Regions from separate parts of the Homo sapiens genome. Here all the other regions are linked to region 1. The links are contacts of gene promoters, found by promoter capture Hi-C in human tissues and cell types (Jung and others, 2019). All regions are on one chromosome and are shown on one strand. Each heading gives the region's core, a stretch centred on a gene start or on the middle of the fragment in contact. The rest is flanking DNA. Distances are from core to core; before and after follow the strand shown.

Region 1 (4,542 bases), core at 539-3,038:
TGTCACACACTCTTGGCAGAGATGCCACGATGCCATGCTCTCTTCAGGGTATCATGTGGAGAGACACACGAGGGCCACGCATCCCACCACCAGGGGTGTTCCCTTCGGTCGCGTAGTCAAGCTAATGTCCTCATTGTTTTCTCCTTTGTATTTATTTATTTATTTAGAGATGGAGTTCCGCTCTTGTCGCCCAGGCTGGAGTGCAATGGCGTGGTCTTGGCTCACTGCAACCTCCGCCTCCCAGGTTCAAGCGATTCTCCTGTCTCAGCCTCCCAAGTAGCTGGGATTACAGGTGCCCACCACCATGGCCGGCGAATATTTTGTATTTTTAGTAGAGACAGGGTTTCACCATGTTGGCCAGGCTGGTCTTGAACTCCTGACCTCAAGTGATCCACCTGCCTCGGCCTCCCAAAGTACTGGGATTATAGGCGTGAGCCACCGCGCCCGGCCTCTCCTTTGTATTTAATTAGCATTTTGTGAAGAGAGATTAAGGTGTGCCAATTTTTTGGTTTTTTTTTTTTTTTTTTTTTTTTTTTTTTTTTTTTTTTTTTGGAGGCAGGGTCTTGCTTCATTTCCCAGGGTGGAGTACAATGGCCTGGTCACGGCTCACTACAGCCTCGACCTCCCAGGCTCCAGCAATTCTCCCAACTCAGCTTACGGAGTAGCTGGGACTACAGGTGTGCGCCACCATGCCCAGATACGTTTTTTATTTTTTGTAGCGATGGGGGTTCACCTGTTGCCGAGGCTGTTCTCGAATTCCTCGGCCCAAGCAATCGGCCTGCCTCGGCTTCCCAAAGTGTTGGGATTACAGGCATGAGCCCCCATACCCAGCCTCAACTTGGATGTTTTTTGCCCTCCATTTTTTTTCTCTCACAGGATAGACTTGTGGACAAATGGATCACTTGCCTCTGGTGCGTTTTTTTGTTTGTTTGTTTTGTTTTGTTTCTTAATTTAGCGACGAGGTCTTACTATGTTGCCCAAGCTGGTCTTGATCCTCGGCTCAAGCAATCCTCCTGCCTTGGCCTCCCAAAGTGCTGGAATTACAGGCGTGGGCCAGTACACCCAGCCCTAGAACTGCTTTGATCATTGTATCCCCAGAAACTAGCACACAACGCTGCACACAGTAGGTGTGCATGCCTGTAATCCCAGCTACTCGGGAGGCTGAAGCAGGAGAATCGCTTGAACCCGGGAGGCGGAGGTCGCAATGAGCCGAGATCATGCCACTGCACTCCAGCCTAGGCGACAGAGCAAGACTCCGTATCAATCAATCAGTCAATCAATCCAAGCAAAACAAAACTGGCTTTGAACAGTCAGCGGCATCCCACCAGGGATTGAGCCCCAGTGTGGGGCACACTCTGTTTACATTAGCTAGCTCATTTATTCCCCACAAAAGCCAGACAAGGCAGGTACTAATTATGATCGTGCGATATTAAACATGGAGAAACCAACGCTCTGATAAGTTCGTTTTATTGTGAGAATAAAACTGCTCAATGGGCGCTGTTATTCCAAGCGAGGTCAGGATTTCCGGATTCTACCCCGCTCCGCCCCTGGCCCCGCCCCGAGAATGTACGTCCCGCCAGGCCCCGCCCCGGCCTTGTCCCACCCACCCCGTCCCCGCCCCCTGTCCGTCTCGCCCTAGTCCCACCTCCTCGTCCCCAGTCAGTCCTGCCTCTCGAACCGCCCCCTGCCTTCGCCGAGGCAGGGAGAGGTGCCTGCAGTGCGAGCCGTGGACGCTAGGGGGCAGCCGCTCGGCTCGGGCCCGACCGCTCTGGGCTGCGCTCCTCGCTTGCCCTCGGACTCGGCTCCCGCTGCGAGCGGCCGCCCTGCCCGCGCACCGCGCTCAGCGCCCACCGCCGGGCTTCCCGCGCCGGACCCAGTACCTCGGCTCCCCGGGGCCGGACCGAGGCCGCAAGCAGCGCCGCGGGGTGTGGGGCGGACCCAGGAGATGAAATGACAACGTCAACCCTCCAGGTACTTCGTGCGGCCCGGCCCGACTTCGGAGGCCGAAGGCAGCGGGGCCTGCGGGCCGCAGAGCCGGGCGGCGGGCGGGTGGTCAGGTGGGCGCCTCCCAGCCCCGGCCTCGCGACCCCGCTCCGGCCGCCCCCTCGCCGCTTCCGCCCGTGTCTGTTTCCACGCGCTCGGAGCCGGGTGGCATCTCCACCCTCAGGCCTTCCGGCCCTGCCCGGCTGGCCCAGCCCCAGGGCCGCTTCGTGTAGCCGGCGCCCCGGTACCGCCGTGGGGATCAGCCTCACCCGAGCCGCACAGGCACCCTCAGGAAGCTCGGCCCGGGGTCCGGCTGGGCGTTCAGACAGCGATGCTCGCTCCCTCCTCTCCTGTCTCGCTCCCTCCTCTCCTGTCCCGGGTCCTGGAAGTCCCTCGACCTCACTTCGAACAAGCCCCGGCCCCTTCCCCAATCTTCGACTTCCTCTTCTCGGCCAGCGACCCTTCATTCATTCCCTAGATCCTGCAGGGTGGTGCTGGGATGGCGCCACCTGGGTGAACAACTGACCCACCCTCTAGGTGCTGTCAGTCCTGCGGGGCCAGAAGAGATCAACATGCTCAGGCCTCATTCCGGGGTTTGAATCTCAGCTCTGCCACTCACCAGCAAGTGACCTTGGGCTAGTTTTTTTTTTTCATCTTCGGGTCTCGAGTTTCCTGGTCTGTAAAATGGGGTAATGCCCTCTAGGTTGTTGTGATGATAGCTTTAAATTGAATAATTACGGTAAAGCATTCTTGTATGTCTGGCACATAGTAGGTGTCCATTAAGTGACAGCCAACAAAGTGCCTGGGAGAGTTAGGCAAGACTTCATGGAAGAAGGGACATCAGAGTTCCAGTAGCATTCAGAGACCTGGAGGTGGAGGAGGGCAGAAGTAGGAGCAGACATGGAATGAGTTGGGGTACCAGGTTAGGAATTAAGAGTCCATAGCCAGATCCCACCGTACCACCAGCAGAAGCCGCAGATCCCGTCTGCCCAGGCAGGTTTTTTATGGCCCGTGAACCGAGAATGTTTTTCAGTTTCAAACACAGGTGTATTTATTTATTTTTAAATTTTATTTATTTATTTTTTTGAGATGGAGTCTCACTCTGTCACCCAGACTGGAGTGCAGTGGTGTGATCTTGGCTCACTGCAGCCTCTGCCTCTCAGGTTCAAGCGATTCTCCTGCCTCAGCCTCCTGAGTAGCTGGGATTACGGGCACCCGCAACCACGCCCGGCTAATTTTTGTATTTTTAGTAGAGACCGGGTTTCACCGTGTTGGCCAGGCTGGTCTCGAACTCCCGACCTCAGATGATCTGCCCACTTCGGCCTCCCAGAGTGCTGGGATTACAGGTGTGAGCCACGGGTCTGGCCTAAACACAGCTTTATTAAGGTATAACTTGCGTGCTTACCATATAACTCACCCGTTATATATTTTTGTTTTTATTAATTTTTTTTTTTGAGACAGTCTCATTCTGTCACCCAGGCTGGAGTGCAGTGGCACAATCTCAACTCATTGCGGCCTCCGCCTCCTGGGTTCAAGTGATTCTCCTGCCTCAGCCTCCCAAGTAGCTGGGATTACAGGCACCTCCCATCACACCCAGCTAATATTTTTTTGTATTTTTAGTAGAGACGGGGTTTCACCATGTTGGCCAGGCTGGTTTCGAACTCCTGACTTCAAGTGTGATCTGCCCACCTCGGCCGCCCAAAGTGCTGGGATTACAGATGTGAGCCACTGTGCCCAGCGCAACTCACCCATTTAAAGTGTATAATTCAGTGCTTTTAGTATATTCATGGTTGTGTGACCATCACCATAATCACTTTTTAGAATATTTTCATCACCTCCAAAAGAAACCCCTCACCCACAACCCCTCTCTCTCCCAGCCCTGGGCAACCACTGCTAATCTACTTTTTTTCTCTGTGGGTTTGCCTACAGAGAAACCCACTTTATATAAACAGAGTCATACAATAGGTGGTCCTTTGTGGCTAGCTTCTTTCATTATGACTTAACATAATGTCATAGGTTTTTACATTTTTTAAATGGCTTGAAAAACAGTATTTCATGACACATGAAAATCCTATGAAATTCACATTTCAGGGTCTATAAATAAAGTTTTATTGGAACACATCCCTGTTCGTTTATTGATATACTGTCTACAGCTGCTTTTGTGCCATCAAGGTAGAGTTGAGTCGTTGCTACAGAGATTATCTGGCTGGCAAATCCTAAATTATTTACCATCTGGTCCTTTACAGTAAGCATTTGCCAGCCCCCATTAGCACTCTTTTCTTTCATCCTCATCTTTTGCCATACGTGTTACTAGAGATGCGGCGGGGCTGGCAGTTTCTCACCTTACCCTCCTGTTCTGTAAAACTGTTTCTCTCCATTGAAACTTGGACCCCCTGTGTGTGAAAAACTGTATGTGGCTGCCAGAAAAGTCCAGTGCACTCTTTTTTTTTTTTTTTTTTTTGAGATGGACTCTTGCTCTGGTGTGATCTCGGTTCTCTGCAGCCTCCACCTCCTGGGTTCAAGCAATTCTCCTGCCTCAGCCTCCCAAGTAGCCGTAAC
Region 2 (4,391 bases), core at 1,879-4,378, 350 kb after region 1:
AGTCAACATAAATTAAATGCAGTTGTTCTCAATCCTGGGTGTAGGTTCGAGTCACCTGTAGTGCTTTAAAACAAACAAAAAGGCATGCCAATTGATGATTTGTTTTTGGAAAACTTCATAGTTAATTCAATGGATAGTTACAGTGTGCCTAACTCTGAAATTAAAGATTATAGTTTAAGGAGCTTACAGTTTAGCAGGCTGGGGAAAAAACAGGCAAGTAAATGTCTAATTTTATAGTAAAATTATATTAACTTCCATATATGTGTATATAAAATTGTATATAGGCCAGGCGTGGGAGCTCACACCTATAATCGGAGCACTTTGGGAGGCCAAGGCAGGGGGATTGCTTGAGCCCAGGAGTTTCAGATTAGCTTGGGCAACAAAGCAAGACCCTGTCTCTATTTTTTTAATTGCATATAAAAATTATATAAGCTTCCAATTGTATTATAAAGTTATATAAAGATACTATACTGCACAGTAGCTGTGTGAATAAAGTACAGTGGAAACATAGTAAGAGCATCTAATTCAGACTGCTCAGAGATGGTAGAACTTGTTCTGTCTTGTCTTAAAACACAAATAGAAGTAAAACAAGTAAAATGGGATTTACTTGAAAAATTTTCATATCTACCCTTCTGTAGTAATTCTGGGCAGAGGGATTCATGTATAAATATGCTCCCTGGAAGGATATGATTCTTTTGGGGGAAATAAAAAGAGTTTTATGTGATTGGAATAAAAAGATATACATTATGAAGTGGTAAGATTTGAGGTTACAGAGGTAGACAACACCTCTTTCTTTTTTTTTTTTTTTTTTTTTTTTGAGACGGAGTCTCGCTCTGTTGCCCAGGCTGAAGTGCAGTGGCATCATGATCTCTGCTCACTGCAAGCTCCACCTCCCGGGTTCCCGCCATTCTCCTGCCTCAGCCTCCCGAGTAGCTGGGACTACAGGCACCCGCCACCACGCCCGGCTAATTTTTTGTATTTTTTAGTAGAGACGGGGTTTCACCGTGTTAGCCAGGATGGTCTCGATCTCCTGAGCTCGTGATCTGCCTGCCTCGGCCTCCCAAAGTGCTGGGGTTACAGGCGTGAGCCACTGCGCCCGGCCGACAACACCTCTTTCATAAAGAGACTTGTGTATTCAGCAAAATAATTTGAATTTTATCCTGACCACTTAGGAAGCTTGATGCTTGAACTTGCGACTTTGAGGGCTGGATATGGGAGGAAAAGAAGAATAAACATAAAAATGATCTACAGTAAAACACAGGACCCAAAAAATCTTTTTATTTAAAAAAATTAAAATGTTTGTTCCATTATAAGTTTCTGGCTTGTATTTCTTTCCGTGAATATAAACTTTTTGGCAGCTTTAAGCAGTTGCAGTAAAATGAGAGGTAAAAAGGAAATTGGTTAGTGCAAAGAGTTGGGATTGGAATGGGAGATAGAAGGAAACAGGAAGAGAGAGAGGTAGAAAAGGAAAGGGGCCAAAAGGTGACAGAGTTGGAAGGGAGAAGAGGAAACAGATACTTGATCTTCCTTCTATAGATACTCAGTGGAAAGAATTTCTAATATCAGGATTCATGCAGTGCCTTGTGGCTTTAAAAAAATTACTTCTAATTATTGGTTTAACAATGGCCATTGGATCCTTTGTCTTTTTGTTTTTAAGGGGATAGAAGATCATCCCTTTTTACATTCTTAACATCTTTCATGTTCTCCAGACAATATAGGTGTATATGTTTTTTGTTTTGGTATGTATGTTTATATTATTTTGTTATGTTATATCAAATTAAGAATATTAATTTTCAGCTAGGTGCAGTGGCACGCACCTGTAGTCCCAGCTACTTGGGAGGCTGAGGAAGGAGAATCACTTGAGCCCAGGAGTTTGAATCCAGCCTGGGATTCAAACCCATCTCTTTAAAAAAAAAAAAAAAAAAAAAAAGGCCAGGTGCAGTTGTACACGCCTGTAATACCAGCACTTTGGGAGGGCGAGGTAGGAAGATTGCTTGAAGCCAGGAGTTGGAAACCAGCCTGGACAACATAGCAAGAGTCCATCTCCACACACAAAAAAAATGTTTTAAGTTAGCTGGGCGTGGTGGCATGTCCCTGTAGACCCAGCTACTTGAGAGACTATGATGGGAGGATTATTTGAGCCCAAGAGTTCAAGGATACAGTGAGCTATGGTGGCACCACTGCACTCCAGCCTGGGCAACAGAGTGAGGTCTTATTGATCTGTCCTTAAAAAAGAAAAAAGAAAAAATTTTCATATCTACCCTTCTGTAGTAGTTTTTAATAGGACAAAATTAATCATGGCTTTCTTACATGTAATATATATTAGATTTTATCTTATGGTTACTCAATTAAATATGACTCTGAATTTAAGAATTTTCTACTTCCCCTATTTCTACCTATCCCACAGCTATGGGGAAAGGATGGTATTGTTAAGCAAACTATCCCTCTCTTAAAATTTTGGATAGGATTAGTAATTTACATAGTCAGATGTAGGCTTTATACTCTAAAATATTCTGTTAACTATGTTGTTCTACTAGACATTATTACAAAGCTTTATTCTCTTGACAGGTTGAAATATTTGCTTACTTATTTTTCAGTATTCAGATATTCATTATTTTTTTCAACTTTATTTATTTATTTATTTTTTGAGACGGAGTCTCACTCTGTCACCCAGGCTGGAGTGCAGTGGCGATCCCGGCTCACTGCAAGCTCCACCTCCGGGGTTCACACCATTCTCCTGCCTCAGCCTCCCGAGTAGCTGGGACTACAGGTGCCCATTACCACGCCTGGCTAATTTTTGGTATTTTTTAGTAGAGACGGGGTTTCACCGTGTTAGCCAGGATGGTCTCAATCTCCTGACCTCGTGATCCGCCTGCCTCGGCCTCTCAGGGTGCTGGGATTACAGGTGTGAGCCACCGCACCCGGCCTCAACTTTATTTTTCAGACTGCTAGTTGAAAAGCATCTAAAAGCACACAGTTTTTACAATACCAAAAAGGTGATTTTTTGTGTGTTCTAATTTTTAAGCATTATTCCTTTCAAGTAATTTTTAAGCATTATTCCTTTCAAGAGTCAGCTTATAAATAACTTGGTCGGGCGCAGTGGCTCACGCCTGTAATCCCAGCACTTTGGGAGGCCAAGGTGGGCCCATTACCTGAGGTCAGGAGATTGAGACCAGCCTGAGCAACATGGAGAAAACCCATCTCTGCTAAAAATACAAAGTTAGCCGGGCTTGGTGGTGCATACCTGTAATCCCAGCTACTCGGGAGGATGAGGCAAGAGAATTGCTTGAACCTGGGAGGTGGAGGTTGCGGTTAGCCAAGACTGCGCCACTGCACTCCAGCCTGGGCAACAAGAACAAAACTCCGTCTCAAATAAATAGATAAATAAGTAAATAACTTAAAAATAAAACAGTTAATGCTTAAGTAATCTTGACTTTAGTTGTGTTTAGTATGGCGTCTGTTGGGGACTCATCTCGTAAACTTTAAAGAAAGGACCTTTTAAAAGGCCAGAAGTTAAATTATCTTGAATCTATGACAAACCCACAGCCAATATCATACTGAATGGGCAAAAACTGGAAGCATTCCCTTTGAAAACTGGCACAAGACAGGGATGCCCTCTCTCACCACTCCTATTCAACATAGTGTTGGAAGTTCTGGCCAGGGCAATTAGGCAGGAGAAGGAAATAAAGGGTATTCAATTAGGAAAAGAGGAAGTCAAATTGTCCCTGTTTGCAGACGACATGATTGTATATCTAGAAAACCCCATTGTCTCAGCCCAAAATCTCCTTAAGCTGATAAGCAACTTCAGCAAAGTCTCAGGATACAAAATCAATGTACAAAAATCACAAGCATTCTTATACACCAACAACAGACAAACAGAGAGCCAAATCATGAGTGAACTCCCATTCACAATTGCTTCAAAGAGAATAAAATACCTAGGAATCCAACTTACAAGGGATGTGAAGGACCTCTTCAAGGAGAACTACAAGCCACTGCTCAATGAAATAAAAGAGGATACAAACAAATGGAAGAACATTCCATGCTCATGGGTAGGAAGAATCAATATCGTGAAAATGGCCATACTGCCCAAGGTAATTTACAGATTCAATGCCATCCCCATCAAGCTACCAATGACTTTCTTCACAGAATTGGAAAAAACTACTTTAAAGTTCATATGGAACCAAAAAAGAGCCTGCATCGCCAAGTCAATCCTAAGCCAAAAGAACAAAGCTGGAGGCATCACACTACCTGACTTCAAACTATACTACAAGGCTACAGTAACCAAAACAGCATGGTACTGGTACCAAAACAGAGATATAGATCAATGGAACAGAACAGAGCCCTCAGAAATAATGCCGCATATCTACAACTATCTGATCTTTGACAAACCT
Region 3 (4,788 bases), core at 189-2,688, 490 kb before region 1:
TAGCTCCTTCTTGCCAACCAATCGTGAGCTCCCAGATTCATCAGAACTATTCTACCGAGGTGGAGGCAGCTGTCAACTGCCTGGTCAATTTGCATATATGGGCTTCCTACACCTACTTCTCTCTGGGCTTCTATTTCCACCATGACGATGTGGATCTGGAAGGTGTGCACCACTTCTTCCACAAATTGGCCAAGGAGAAGCACAAGGGCGCTGAGTGTCCCTTGAAAATGCAAAACCAGTGTGGCGGCCGCACTGTCTTCCCGGACATCCAGAAGCCATGTAAAGATGAATGGGGTAAAACCCTGGGTGCGATGGAAGTCACTCTGGCCCTGGAGAAGAACCTGAACTGGACCCTTTTGGATCTTCATGCCTTGGGTTCCACCTGCACAGACCCCCATATCTGTGACTTCCTGGAGAGCCACTTCCTAGATGAAAAAGTAAAACTCATCAAGAAGATAGGTGACCACCTGACCAACCTTCACAGGCCAGCCGGCCTCCAGGCCGGGCTGGGCAAAAAGGTTCACCCTCAGGCACACGGGAGCCTACCGAACCCAGCGACATCTGAAGAGCCCCGCTCTGCCTAAGCCTCTCCCTCCAGCCACTAGGCAGCTTTTTTAAACCAACTCTAGAGCCCTCTCCCAAGCCTTAGACCAAATGGAAATAAAGCTTTTTACAGCAAAAAAAAAAAAAAAAAAGTACATACCTAAATAAAACCCAAGCAGCTCTGCTCTCTTCACTCGGCTTGCGGGTGTCTTTAGTTCACTAGCAATTTTATTCTGGAATGAGCTTTTTATTTTCCTCCCCTGGTCTCATCATTTCTTTTTATTGCTTTCTCCAGCCCAAGAATCTATCATTTTGAAGCCAAAGATGGCCTTAGAGGTGGGTGACTACAAAATCAATCTCAAGCTCATGGATAACCAGAATAAAGACCAAGTGACCACCTTAGAGGTCAGCGTGTGTGACTGTGAAGGGGCCGCTGGCGTCTGTAGGAAGGCACAGCCTGTCGAAGCAGGATTGCAAATTCCTGCCATTCTGGGGATTCTTGGAGGAATTCTTGCTTTGCTAAGTAAGTCCAGCTGGCAAGTGACTCAGCCTTTGACTTAAAAAAATGGAGGAGGTTTATTTCCTGGAAATGATTTTTGTTCTTATATTAATAAGGATATAGGTTAGCTGATGTGGGAAAGAGACTCCCAAGTTATGCCAGCCTCCATAAAATAGAAGTTTGTCTCTTACTGAACATTTCAGAGGTAAATGGTCTAAGATGGGAAGGCCATGAAGTCAACAGGGGACCCAGGTTTCTTCTACCTTGTCTCTTTTCATTCTTCAAGACAGTGCATCCCAAGCTTGAGAGCATACAAATCATCTGGGCCTCTTTTTGAACTGGGAAATCTGATCCAGGAGGTCTGGCATAGGGCCACAGATTCTGCATTTCTTTTTTTTTTTTTTTTTTTTTTGAGATGGAGTTTCGCTCTTGTTGCCGAGGCTGGAGTGCAATGGTGTGATCTCAGCTCACTGCACCCTCTGCTTAACAGGTTCAAGCGATTCTCCCGCCTCAGCCTCCTGAGTAGCTGGGACTATGGGCATGTGCCACCACGCCCAGCTAATTTTGTATTTTCAGTAGAGACGGTGTTTCTCCATTTTGGTTAGGCTGGTCTCAGACTCCCGACCTCAGGTGATCCACCCGCCTCAGCCTCCCAAAGTGCTGGGATTACAGGCTTGAGCCACCGCACCCGGCCAGATTCTACATTTCTAACCAGCTCCCAGGCGGTACTGATGTTGCAGTTCCTTAGACCATAGGCAGAGTAGCAAGACCTTGGGGGCTGCCCTCATCAGCGTGGTCTAAGCTAGCCAGCTCACCACCACCACCTCTACATTCCATCCTAGATTGGGGAAGGGGATAACAGAGGAAGTGGAGGCCAAACGACTGGAAGTTGCATATATCACCTCCACTTATATACCATTGGCCCAAACACAGCCACATCTAGCTGCAAGGGAACCTGGAAGCTTCTACTTACAATTGAAAATTGACATGGAGTAGGGGTGGAGTGTAGGGTGAGCAGTGAGTGTCAATGACTAAAAGGATAAAGGAGAAAAAGGATGCTGAGGAAAATTGGCAGTTTCTGCCATAGTCCTTAAACCTGTTTCCATTGGAGCCCACCTGGAGTGAGCCCTAGGGGTGACACAGGAGCTGTTATGGTCAAGGTAAATACTTTTATCATTTACACACAGGGAGAAAGTACTGAATCTATTAAAGGAATAAATTAGCGATGAAAACAGACTATGTGCATCAAAAGACAAAGTATCCATATGGAGGAGTGCACTACATCAGAACTCTGGTAGGGCTTTAAACATGTGAATGATGGAAGAGCAAGCAAATGATTATCACAGCAAATGAGAGCAAGTCAATTAGAAACCTTTGACCTGGTATGGTGGCTCACTCTTTGGGAGACCAGGGTGGGAGGATTGCTTGAAGCCAGGAGTTTGACACCAGCCTGGGCAACAAAGCAAGACTGTCTCTACAAAATAAAAATAAAAAATACATTTTTTTATTAAAAAAAATTTTTTAAAAGAAATGTTTAAAGATCATATATAATTAGTGACTGCAAGGGGTGGTCCAGCTCATGAATGCCTTTGTAGTCAGGGTAGTCAGAAAAGGCTGTTAATTGAGTCTCAAGGACAGTTTTGTGGAAGATGTAAGTGGTTAGGCCACAGGGGCTGGTAGAATTCCAACAGGCAGATGGGTATTTAGGAAGGTTCCCCTCCTAGCAAAGCACAGCAGAGGCTTGAGGAGACTCCTAGAAGAGCAGAGACCAGGCCAAGCTGGTGGGAATGGAAAAAGAATTTTGGAGGGAGCAGTGGGACCAAATCTAGGGTTTTCAATTTAGATTGAGCATGGGTGCCATTGATCCTGCTGCTGCTGCCTCAGTGGACTCCAGGAGAGGGTGCCTTTCAACCTTCCAGAAATGTCTGCTGGGCATCCCATTTGCTTCTGCCCCCTCCTGGTGTCCTCCCAAAGTTGAAGAAAAGGATAGTGCTGTTGAGAATTGAGCAAGCCTTCTGGACTTTCATCCTGCCAGGCTTTACATGGCTTTATTGTGCCATGAGATTAGGTTAATTCATCATTGCCTTGGGCAGGGTAACACAAGCCCTGCCTGCCCACTTCCTAGTCAAATTACATTTCAGTGGCCTGGTCTGCTTTTGGTATAGTGGTTACTGACCAGTACATTCATTCTAAAGGGAATCTTTTTTTTTTTTTTTTTTTTTTTTTAGGCAAGTTCTCATTCTGTGGGCCCGGCTGGAGTGCAGTGGAGTGATCTCAGATCTCAGGTCACTGCAGCCTTGACTTCCGGGGCTCAGGCAATCCTCCCACCTCAGACCCCTGGGTGGCTGGGACCACAGGCATGAGCCACCACACCCAGCTAATTTTTTAATATTTTTTTGTAGAAACAGTGTTTCCTTATGTTGCCCAGGCTGGTCTCAAACTCCTGGTCTCAACCAGTCCTCCCACCTTGGCCTTCCAAAGTGTTGGGATTATAGGCATGAGCCACTGTGCCCAGCCAGGGAATCTTAAAGATTGTAGTTATACTTGAAATATTTTTTTTTTAAATAGGATTACCTAAATTTGCTATGGGTATGTATTTTTTTAGACACTGGGGGTGGGGATTCCCATGTAGAGCAACATTTAAAACAGAGGCAATGCCAGAGTTCAGATGTTCAATTTCAATTTCTTGTATTTTTAACTTCTATGATTATTTTTTCTTTCTTTATTAGAGATGGGTTCTCACTATGTTACTCACATTGGTCTCAAACTCTTGAGCTCAAGTGATCCTCCCACCTTGGCCTCCCAAAGTGCTGGGATTACAGGTGTGAGCCACTCCTCCGGCCAATTTCTTGTTTCTTAAGGGCACAAATGTGCTAGAGGCTGGGCACGGTGGCTCACATCTATAATCTCAACACTTTGGGAGGCTGAGGTGGCAGGATTGCTTGAACCTAGGTTTCAAGATCAGCCTAGGCAACATAGCAAGATCCCATCTCTATTAAAAAAAATTACTAGAGAGACACCAGGAGATCTGAAGCTTTTCATGTTTTCCGCCAATGTTTGATTGCTTACTCTGTGCCAGGCTTTTTCTCAGAGCCTGCGGATACTGGGCTTCTGGCACAGCTGATAAGAGGGGTCATTTTGGAAACGGTAAACTGCCTCTTGCTTTGCATGGATGGGGACTGTGTAGCTCCTATAGTCTTGTTCAGTGCTGTCTCCCTGTGCAGCCAATTCAGTGTTCTTGTTGATGAATCATGGACAAGGGAGTTATGCTGTTTATCTGGATAAGGTTTCTGGCATTTTTCTGGTTTTAGAAATAGGTAGTTGAGGTACATCTGAGAAATCTTTTCCCCAAGTTTATGCAACCTCCTGTTTAAAGATTATGCTTCGGCCGGGCGTGGTGGCTCACGCCTGTAATCTCAGCACTTTGGGAGGCCCAGGTGGGTGGATCACTTGAGGTCAGGAGTTTGAGACCAGCCTGGGCAACATAGTGAAACCCTGTCTCTACTAAAAATACAAAAATTAGCTGGGCATGGTGGCAGGTGCTTGTAGTCCTACCTACTTGGGAGGCTGAGGCAGGAGAATCACTTGAACCCAGGATGTGGTGGTTTCAGTGAGCTGAGATTGCGCCACTACACTCCAGCCTGGGCAACAGAGTGAGACTCTGTCTCAAAATAATAATAAATAAATAAATAAATAAAGATTATGCTTCATAGGGTACAGTATATAGGTACTTGGGCACCCATGGA
Region 4 (4,570 bases), core at 1,189-3,688, 380 kb after region 1:
TATTTTGATACCTGCTCTTCATGAACCATAAAATTACTGTGTTCTGATTACCCTTAATTCACCTAAGCATATCAATAGCCGATTATTCTACTTCCTTGTTTGACTATCTTTGCTTGTCGTACTTTTAAAAAATATATCTCAAGGAAAATGAGACATCATGTTATGGAGAATTGTAGTCCTGTACCTGTTTTCTAAATGATAATAATATAGAGTGGAAAGCTGGTCCTGCATATATTTTTAGAGCAATAGTGATTTTTGATGTATGTTACAAACTTGTTTAATGTTTATATATTCATAATATTTGGGGATTTTTATTTTTTAGACTACAAAGTCTGTTGGATCAACTCAGCAAACATTAGAAAACATCTCAAACATAGCAGGAAATGGCTCTTTTTCATCACCATCATCTTCCCACCTACCTTCTGAAAATGAAAAACAGCAGCAGATTCAGCCCAAGGCATACAACCCAGAGACCCTGACAACTATTCAAACCCAGGACATCTCACAGCCTGGTACTTTTCCAGCAGTTTCTGCTTCTAGTCAGCTGCCCAACAGCGATGCACTATTGCAGCAGGCTACACAGTTTCAGACAAGAGAAACTCAGTCTAGAGAGATATTACAGTCAGATGGTACAGTGGTTAATTTGTCACAACTGACTGAGGCATCACAACAACAGCAGCAGTCACCACTACAAGAACAAGCACAGACTTTACAGCAGCAGATTTCATCAAATATTTTTCCATCACCAAATAGTGTGAGTCAGCTTCAGAATACTATTCAGCAGCTGCAAGCAGGGAGTTTCACAGGCAGTACTGCTAGTGGCAGCAGTGGAAGTGTTGACTTGGTCCAACAAGTTTTAGAGGCACAGCAGCAGTTATCTTCAGTTTTATTTTCTGCTCCAGATGGTAATGAGAATGTTCAAGAGCAGCTTAGTGCAGATATTTTTCAACAAGTCAGTCAAATTCAGAGTGGTGTAAGCCCTGGAATGTTTTCCTCAACAGAGCCAACAGTCCATACCAGACCAGATAATTTATTACCTGGAAGAGCTGAAAGTGTTCATCCACAGTCTGAAAACACGTTATCTAATCAACAGCAGCAGCAGCAGCAGCAACAGCAAGTGATGGAATCTTCAGCCGCAATGGTGATGGAGATGCAACAGAGTATCTGCCAGGCAGCTGCCCAGATTCAGTCAGAGTTATTCCCTTCAACTGCTTCAGCAAATGGAAACCTTCAGCAATCGCCAGTTTACCAGCAGACTTCTCACATGATGAGTGCATTGTCTACCAATGAGGATATGCAAATGCAGTGTGAATTGTTTTCTTCTCCTCCTGCAGTTTCTGGAAATGAAACTTCTACAACTACCACACAGCAGGTTGCAACCCCTGGCACTACCATGTTTCAGACATCAAGTTCAGGAGATGGAGAAGAAACTGGAACACAAGCAAAACAGATTCAGAACAGTGTCTTTCAGACCATGGTCCAAATGCAACATAGTGGGGACAATCAACCTCAAGTTAACCTTTTTTCATCCACAAAAAGTATGATGAGTGTTCAGAATAGTGGTACCCAACAACAAGGTAATGGTTTATTCCAGCAAGGGAATGAGATGATGTCACTTCAATCTGGAAATTTTTTGCAGCAGTCTTCTCATTCACAGGCCCAACTTTTTCATCCTCAAAATCCTATTGCCGATGCTCAGAACCTTTCCCAGGAAACTCAAGGTTCTCTCTTTCATAGTCCAAATCCTATTGTCCACAGTCAGACTTCTACAACCTCCTCTGAACAAATGCAGCCTCCAATGTTTCACTCTCAAAGTACCATTGCTGTGTTACAGGGCTCTTCAGTTCCTCAAGACCAGCAGTCAACCAACATATTTCTTTCCCAGAGTCCCATGAATAATCTTCAGACTAACACAGTAGCCCAAGAAGCATTTTTTGCAGCACCGAACTCAATTTCTCCACTTCAGTCAACATCAAACAGTGAACAACAAGCTGCTTTCCAACAGCAAGCTCCAATATCACACATCCAGACTCCTATGCTTTCCCAAGAACAGGCACAACCCCCGCAGCAGGGTTTATTTCAGCCTCAGGTGGCCCTGGGCTCCCTTCCACCTAATCCAATGCCTCAAAGCCAACAAGGAACCATGTTCCAGTCACAGCACTCAATAGTTGCCATGCAGAGTAACTCTCCATCCCAGGAACAGCAGCAGCAGCAGCAACAGCAGCAGCAACAGCAGCAGCAACAACAACAGAGCATTTTATTCAGTAATCAGAATACCATGGCTACAATGGCGTCTCCAAAGCAACCACCACCAAACATGATATTCAACCCAAATCAAAATCCAATGGCTAATCAGGAGCAACAGAACCAGTCAATTTTTCACCAACAAAGTAACATGGCCCCAATGAATCAAGAGCAACAGCCCATGCAATTTCAGAGTCAGTCCACAGTTTCCTCACTTCAGAACCCAGGTCCTACCCAGTCGGAATCATCACAGACCCCCTTGTTCCATAGCTCTCCTCAGATTCAGTTGGTACAAGGGTCACCTAGTTCTCAAGAGCAGCAAGTAACTCTCTTCTTATCTCCAGCATCCATGTCTGCCTTGCAGACCAGTATAAATCAACAAGATATGCAACAGTCTCCTCTTTATTCCCCTCAGAACAACATGCCTGGAATTCAAGGAGCCACATCTTCGCCTCAACCACAGGCTACTTTATTTCACAACACAGCAGGAGGCACAATGAACCAACTGCAGAATTCTCCTGGCTCATCTCAGCAGACATCAGGAATGTTCTTATTTGGCATTCAAAATAGTAAGAAACTCTAATTTTTCATTACTTAATTGGTCATTATTATTATTAGAAGGAAGCAGAGTGCAGTGGTGCGATCTCAGCTCACTGCACCTGCACCCTCTGCCTCCCAGGTTCAGGTGATTCTCCTGCCTCAGCCTCCCAAGCAGCTGGGATTACAGGTGTGCACAACCACGCCCAGCTAATTTTTGTATTTTTGTTAGAGGCGGGGTTTCACCATGTTGGCCAGGCTGGTGTTGAATTTTTGACCTCAAGTGATCCGCTGGCCTCGGCCTCCCAAAGTGCTGGGATTACAGGCGTGAGCCACCACACCTGTCCTGTATAGTTGTTTTAAGAGTACAGATTGTAGTTAGAACTCTATCACCTATAGACTATAAGATCTTGTACAAGTTATTTGGCTTTTATGGGTCTCAATTCTCTCATTTAAAATGGTGATAATATTACATACTTTACATGGATTTGGGGAGGATTAAATATGGCAATGTATAAAAATGTGTGTTTGCCATTTTAAGCTATAAACTTAAAAGGAAAATGAAGTCAGAATGACAGATAATACCTTACCCAGTTGAAGTAAGTAGTTTCTAAGGAGGTAGAAACTCATCTTTAATGTTTATATACCAAGGAATTTATATAGGACTTTTGATATTTAAGCAAAGTTGTATTTTTAGACTGCTTAAAGGAAACCTAAGATGAATTCCAGTGCCAGTCTGTGAAAACCTTTTTCTTGGACTATCAGGTGCCTAACTTTTAGTAATATACAAGGAGAATGCAGTAATGAATTTTCCCCAACAACTAATAAATATCTTTTCATGAATCTTTACTAATCAGATAGCTTCTATTTTTAATGTTTCTGCAGACTGTAGTCAGCTTTTAAGCTTCTGTTTTCAATGTCTCTGCAGACTGTAGTCAGCTTTTAACCTCTGGACCAGCTACATTGCCTGATCAGTTGATGGCCATAAGTCAGCCAGGCCAACCACAAAACGAGGGCCAGCCACCTGTGACAACACTTCTTTCTCAGCAAATGCCAGAGAATTCTCCACTGGCATCCTCTATAAACACCAACCAGAACATCGAAAAGATTGATTTGCTTGTTTCATTGCAAAACCAAGGGAACAACTTGACTGGCTCCTTTTAACTGGATATGTAAGTATTGCATTTTGGCTTCTTATTGAAAAGCATCAGATTTTATTCTTCTTAACAGATTTAGGTTAAGTAATAGTAGTTCTAATCTTTTAAAATGTGGCTTTCTCACAAGATGATACTTTTTTACTCTGAATAAAATTATTCTGAATGATAGCTTATGGTCATATAGTTAATACAGACCAGGCCGGGCGTGGTGGCTCATGCCTGTAATCCCAGCACTTTGAGAGACCAAGGTGGGCGGATCACGAGGTCAGGCGATCGAGACCATCCTGGCTAACATGGTGAAACCCCGTCTCTACTAAAAAATACAAAAAAAAAAAAAAATACAGACCAAACATCCCTAGTCCAAAAATCCAAAATCCAAAATGCTCTGAAATCCGAATCTTTTTGAGTGCTGACATGACATCTCAAGTGGAAAATTCCACACCTAACCTCATATGATAGGGTCATAGTCAAAAGTCAGGCTCACAACATGCAGTTTATTTGGTGTCCCCAAGGGTAAAAAAGATCCTTCCAGCTCCCTTCAGCTGTGATAGATTTTTTTAGGTGTATGTGAAACAGAAGTGAATTTCATGTTTGGACTTGTGTCTTATCCCCAAGATATCTCATTGTGTATA

Evidence for each region. Contacts are between HindIII fragments. The study calls those that stand out against the background at their distance.
Region 2: a contact is called between a fragment that was not itself captured here and the fragment with the promoter of VPS4A in region 1, in 2 of the 25 tissues and cell types used here (dorsolateral prefrontal cortex and heart left ventricle).
Region 3: a contact is called between a fragment that was not itself captured here and the fragment with the promoter of VPS4A in region 1, in 1 of the 25 tissues and cell types used here (thymus).
Region 4: a contact is called between a fragment that was not itself captured here and the fragment with the promoter of VPS4A in region 1, in 1 of the 25 tissues and cell types used here (lymphoblastoid cells).

The regions. Positions count from the first base shown.
Region 1 is chr16:69,309,562-69,314,103 of GRCh38, forward strand. It overlaps VPS4A (vacuolar protein sorting 4 homolog A), which reads left to right and starts at 1,789. Exons shown (of 11, transcript NM_013245.3): 1 at 1,789-1,971. The coding sequence starts at 1,951. RefSeq lists enhancers at 661-1,611, 1,612-2,561 and silencers at 1,504-1,643, 1,704-2,253. The HindIII fragment of the contact is 10,929 bases long and covers 1-4,542 here.
Region 2 is chr16:69,661,658-69,666,048 of GRCh38, forward strand. All of the region lies in intron 7 of NFAT5 (nuclear factor of activated T cells 5), which reads left to right. Among named protein-coding and RNA genes, the nearest start is that of SNORD13H, 45 kb to the right of the region's middle. The HindIII fragment of the contact is 4,649 bases long and covers 805-4,391 here.
Region 3 is chr16:68,822,561-68,827,348 of GRCh38, forward strand. CDH1 (cadherin 1) reads left to right here. Exons shown (of 16, transcript NM_004360.5): 13 at 839-1,066. It also overlaps the pseudogene FTLP14. Among named protein-coding and RNA genes, the nearest start is that of TANGO6, 19 kb to the right of the region's middle. The HindIII fragment of the contact is 3,204 bases long and covers 1-3,040 here.
Region 4 is chr16:69,691,427-69,695,996 of GRCh38, forward strand. It overlaps NFAT5 (nuclear factor of activated T cells 5), which reads left to right. Exons shown (of 15, transcript NM_138713.4): 13 at 323-2,813; 14 at 3,710-3,953. The coding sequence ends at 3,945. Among named protein-coding and RNA genes, the nearest start is that of SNORD13H, 15 kb to the right of the region's middle. The HindIII fragment of the contact is 7,332 bases long and covers 1-4,570 here.